Linked DNA regions of Homo sapiens: region 1 is linked to region 2. Evidence: promoter capture Hi-C in human tissues and cell types (Jung and others, 2019). All regions are on one chromosome and are shown on one strand. Each heading gives the region's core, a stretch centred on a gene start or on the middle of the fragment in contact. The rest is flanking DNA. Distances are from core to core; before and after follow the strand shown. Region 1 overlaps KCNH1 (potassium voltage-gated channel subfamily H member 1). Region 2 holds the start of KCNH1 (potassium voltage-gated channel subfamily H member 1).

Region 1 (2,700 bases), core at 139-2,638, 170 kb after region 2:
AAGAAGGAATATTCTCAATTCATTCTGTAAGATCAGTAAAATCACAAAACCAAAACACATAAGCATGGTGTAGAAAAGTAAAATTATAGGTTAACCTCACTCATGAGGATGGATGAAAAATTTATAACCAAAAAAGAGTAAATAAGAATTCATAATGTACAGAAAAGGTAATGTGTCATAATAAAGTTGAATTTATTCCAAGAATATACAGGTGGTTTAATATTAGAAAATTTATAAATCTGATTTATTACATTAACAGATGAAAGGAAATAATCCGTATAATTAAAGATGCAGAGAAGGCAAAAAGTCAAAAACATTTCCTGATAAAAGCTCTTAGCAAATTAGGAATAAAAAGGGATGTCCTTAATTTGATAAGGAATATCTACTAAAAATCTTCTGAAAACATCATTGTAATGGGGGGATATTTTAAGAACATTTTATTTAAAATTGAGAACAAGACAAGAAACTACCATCAGAGTGAACAGGCAACCTACAAAATGGGAGAAAATTTTTGCAACCTACTCGTCTGACAAAGGGCTAATATCCAGAATCTACAATGAACACAAACAAATTTACAAGAAAAAAACAAACAACCCCATCAAAAAGTGGGCGAAGGACATGAACAGACACTTCTCTAAACAAGACATTTATGCAGCCAAAAAACACATGAAAAAATGCTCATCATCACTGGCCATCAGAGAAATGCAAATCAAAACCACAATGAGATACCATCTCACATCAGTTAGAATGGCAATCATTAAAAAGTCAGGAAACAACAGGTGCTGGAGAGGATGTGGAGAAATAGGAACACTTTTACACTGTTGGTGGGACTGTAAACTAGTTCAACCATTGTGGAAGTCAGTGTGGCGATTCCTCAGGGATCTAGAACTAGAAATACCATTTGACCCAGCCATCCCATTACTGGGTATATACCCAAAGGATTATAAATCATGCTGCTATAAAGACACATGCACACGTATGTTTATTGCGGCATTATTCACAATAGCAAAGACTTGGAACCAACCCAGATGTCCAACAATGATAGACTGGATTAAGAAAATGTGGCACATATACACCATGGAATACTATGCAGCCATAAAAAATGATGAGTTCATGTCCTTTGTAGGGACATGGATGAAATTGGAAATCATCATTCTCAGTAAACTATCGCAAGAACAAAAAACCAAACACCGCATATTCTCACTCATAGGTGGGAACTGAACAGTGAGATCACATGGTCACAGGAAGGGGAATATCACACTCTGGGGACTGTTGTGGGGTGGTGGGAGGGGGCGGGGATAGCATCGGGAGATATATCTAATGCTAGATGACGAGTTAGTGGGTGCAGTGCACCAGCATGGCACATGTATACATATGTAACTAACCTGCACAATGTGCACATGTACCCTAAAACTTAAAGTATAATAAAAAAAAAAGAAAAAAAAATTGAGAACAAGACAATGTTCACTGTCATAGCTTCAAGTCAATATTTTGTTCAAATTCCTAACCAATACAGTAAGAGAGAAAAAAGAAATAGTTGTAAGGATTGCGAAGGAAGAAACGAATGAAGAAAAATTAAGTGAAAGGATATTCTCTGACAGAAATTAAGACTTCTTATAACCTAATAATTGGGACAATATGGTATTGATTCAGGATAGACAAATTGACAGATGGAACTGAAGAGAAACAGATCCGTATATCAGGAAATATGAAGAATAAAGGTAGCATCACAGGTCACTAGGGTAAGGAAGGACCACTCAATAACTGGTTCTGGGATATTTGATTATTTGTAGAGATAAAGTGATTTTTTTTCTCCCTCATATCACATGTAAACAAGAAGCTTCAGATAAAATAAAAGCTTAAGTCATTTGTCTTAAGTGTGAAAGGCAAAACTTTCAAACTTTTAGGAAAACCCCTTATATCCTTTGCATAGCAGAGGGTATCTTTTTACTATTTTTTTACAATTTGATTGTATTTTACTTTATTTTACTTTAAGTTCTGGGGTACATGTGCAGAACATGCAGCTTTGTTGCATAGGTATACACATGCCATGGTGGCTTGCTGCACCCATCAGCCCATGATCTACATTATGTATTCCTCCTAATGCTATCCCTCCCCTAGCCCCCCAACCCCTGACAGTCCCTAGTGTGTGATGTTCCCCTCCCTGTGTCCATGTGTTCTCATTGTTCAACTCCCACTTATGAGTGAGAACATGTGGTGTGTGGTTTCCTGTTCTTGTGTTAGTTTGACATGAACTCAATCGTTTTTTATGGCTGCATAATATTCCATGGTGTATATAAGCCATATTTTCTTTATCCAGTCTATCATTGATGGGCATTTCGTTGGTTCCAAGTCTTTGCTATTGTGAACAGTGCCACAATAAACATACATGTGCATGTGTCTTTATAGTAGAATGATTTATAATCCTTTGGGTATGTACCCATTAATGGAATTGCTGGGTCAAATGGTATTTCTAGTTTGAGATCCCTGAGAAATTGCCACACTGTCTTCCACAATGGTTGAACTAATTTACACTCCCACCAACAGTGTAAAAGCGTTCCTATTTCTCTGCCTCCTCTCCAGCATCTGTTGTTTCCTGTCTTTTTAATGATTGCCATTCTAAGTGGCGTGAGATGGTATCTCGTGGTTTTGATTTGCATTTGTCTGATGACCAGTGATGATGAGCATTTTTTCATGTGT
Region 2 (2,700 bases), core at 130-2,629:
GTTTAAGAAATCACTGTTCTAGACTAGGTAACAGGCGATGGGTAGAAGGCTATCTTAAGGAAAAAGTGTATCATTACTTGCATTTCAAATCCTATGACAGTCTTATCCAACTCTCTGCTAACAGCAATCTGTTTACTTTGTCTCTACACAAGACGAGATAAAGGGTGATATTCGTAATGGCCCAATTTATTTAGTCACTCCAATAATGACGTCTGACCTTGGCACAGCACTTTACAATTTAAGGTGCTGTCCCCATACATAATTCTTGCTTGATCTTCACAGCAACTCTGAGAGATTTCTGGGCAAGAATTAGTTCTTCTGTTTTTGAAATTAATTAACTGAGACAGGATGTCTTTGCAATACATTAGGATATGTCAGGATGGCTAACCCAGACAATTAATTTTCAGGGTTAGTTTTTTTTTCTCTTACATTTTTGTGTTGACTGTTGACTCAGTCTGAAACTAGTAAACTCTCCATTCATTTCTCCTGTGGGACATAGGCTTAGTCTCCCACCGCACCGACTGGGGATACATAGTAAAAAGGCAGGTACAGACTATGTGTGGGTCGAAATCCCCCAAAATAAGTGAACAAACGACCGTTGTCTTAGCCCCTGTCCAGAAACCTTGGGTGTATGTGGTTCTTCCGTATACCAGGGGTCAGCTGTAAAAACTAACTGTATCCTCTGCACTACAGACTACCCTTCAAGCCAAAGCCACGGTTGCTTAATTAATGCTGCCCCTCTCCTGAGCATTCGCCCTTAGAGACAAGTCCACCCCTTTGATGTTTGTCAGGCAGTTTGATACTGATCATACCAAACATCAGGAGCCTGCATTTGTGTCTACGGTAAAAACAACCCAAGACAACTCTTCTGAAGCTGAATCTGCCAGTCACTCTAAATCTGCACTATTGCAATACGACTTCATTAATTACTGCTCAAACACTGGCCTAGAATCAAGGTGGGGCAACTTTCACTAGTCAGGCTAACCTTACAGGAAGGCAAGAAGGTGTTCCCAGAGCCTCACAGGTCCCGGGGGCCCCGGCCTGAAACAGAGCAAAGGAAGAGAGTTACATCAGCACGCTCCCCTAAGACTTGTTGGGGGTGAATCCGCCCTGAAAGCTGCTCACAATGCCCTCCTCTCCACCCAGCCCATGGCACATCCTGAACACATTTCCCGGCTGAACCCAGAGGGTGGCGCTGCCGTCCCAGCCTTGGTCCACGGCCGCCCGCCACTTCCCTGCCTCTGCGGGAGCCCCCCAGCTTGGTCTCCCGCAGGCCGGCGGTGGGGCACGAGCCCGGTAGGGGGCGCCGCCGGCCCAGGCGCCGCTGCTCCCTCCGCCCACCCGGAGGCGGCTGCCGCTAGCCGAGGCCGGCGCGAGTGCACTGCGAGGCGGGCCGCAGGGAGGGAGGCGCGAAGAGGGCGCGAGGGTAGCAGCCAGAGGGAGCCGCCAGCCCTGCCTGCGGATCCCCGCCGGGCGCATGGGGCGCTTCGAGCCGGGACTGCGTGCGGGCCCCGAGGCCAGTTTCCTGCTGTCGTAAGAAGCCGCGCCAGGACGCCCGCCGGACCCCGAGCTGCTGGGAGGATGACCATGGCTGGGGGCAGGAGGGGACTAGTGGCCCCTCAAAACACGTTTCTGGAGAATATTGTTCGGCGGTCCAATGGTAAGAGGTGCATTCGGATTTCGATTACCCGGGCGTTTTATCCGTGCCTTTATTGCAGAACCTCTCGCCGCTCGGAGCCAGCAGATGCAGCAGAACCCGCGAGCTCTGCTAAGGAGCCGCGGCGCGGGCACCCAGGGCAGCCTCCCCGAGGCAGAGAAAGGTGGGCAGGGCGGGGCGGGGTCTGATGGGTCCCCATCCTAACAGGAGAGCTCTTCTGGGGACGCCTTTTGGGCCTTTCTAGCGCCCTCTCGGTCTTATCTCCAAGGATGCGTGACAGCTGCTGAGCAAAGTACTGGGAAAAGTGATGGAAAGCTGGCTGCAGCCGGAGCGGCAGCGCGCGCCCCATCGGCACTGCCCACCCTTCCGCGAAGGCTCTGGGGCTCCCGGGCTGCTCCCAGAGGCGCCGCCTCTCCCCAGGGAGAGCCAGCAGTAGAGACGGGCAACTCCAGGTCCCCGCTGCCTCAGAATGGGAGGATCCGGCTGCCTCCACCTTCCATCCCTGCAACTGAAAAGTCCGAGGTGTCGGGACGTGCTCTCGGCGGCCTGATTCCACCCCTTCACCCACCCACCACTTTCTAGGTGAAGTTAAGGCTCACCTTCGAAGTGAGGGGCAGATGGTTTTCCTGGCGTCAGGTGGGAAGTGGAGGGCACAGGTGCAGAGCGAACTAAATGGTCACAGGTACAAACCTGTTATATTTCCCCTCTTCCAAACCCACAACGGTTTTATGCCACCCTTAAGTGTTGCTCACCTATAAATTCCCAATCTCACCAAACCTATAAATAGATCCATTACCCAATAAACTGACAATCAGCACTCATCTGTTTCCTTGTGGCATTAAGATCGACGGTAGCATGAAGCCTTGAGAGGCGAGAGTCCTAGGAGCGGGGATGGAAAGGAAGAATTCCAAACGCCTTTCGGACTTAACAGAGGAGAGACCCCAACTAAGCACTTGCAGAGCGACTAGGAGTCCTGGCAGTTGGAAGGCGCAGCGCACGAGTTCATCAAATGGCTATATTGAAAGATAGCCAAGCATAAGATG

Evidence for each region. The method cuts DNA at HindIII sites, captures the fragments that hold promoters and counts their contacts. A contact is called where the count stands out against the background at its distance.
Region 1: a contact is called between a fragment that was not itself captured here and the fragment with the promoter of KCNH1 in region 2, in 1 of the 25 tissues and cell types used here (hippocampus).

What each region holds. Positions count from the first base shown.
Region 1 is chr1:210,966,606-210,969,305 of GRCh38, reverse strand. The region is part of intron 6 of KCNH1 (potassium voltage-gated channel subfamily H member 1); the gene reads left to right. Among named protein-coding and RNA genes, the nearest start is that of KCNH1-IT1, 170 kb to the left of the region's middle. The HindIII fragment of the contact is 3,496 bases long and covers 1-2,700 here.
Region 2 is chr1:211,132,827-211,135,526 of GRCh38, reverse strand. KCNH1 (potassium voltage-gated channel subfamily H member 1) reads left to right here and starts at 1,379. Exons shown (of 11, transcript NM_172362.3): 1 at 1,379-1,660. The coding sequence starts at 1,582. It overlaps KCNH1-IT1 (KCNH1 intronic transcript 1), which reads left to right and starts at 2,153. Exons shown (of 2, transcript NR_046784.1): 1 at 2,153-2,339; 2 at 2,501-2,700. RefSeq lists silencers at 1,198-1,477, 1,972-2,162. The HindIII fragment of the contact is 15,184 bases long and covers 1-2,700 here.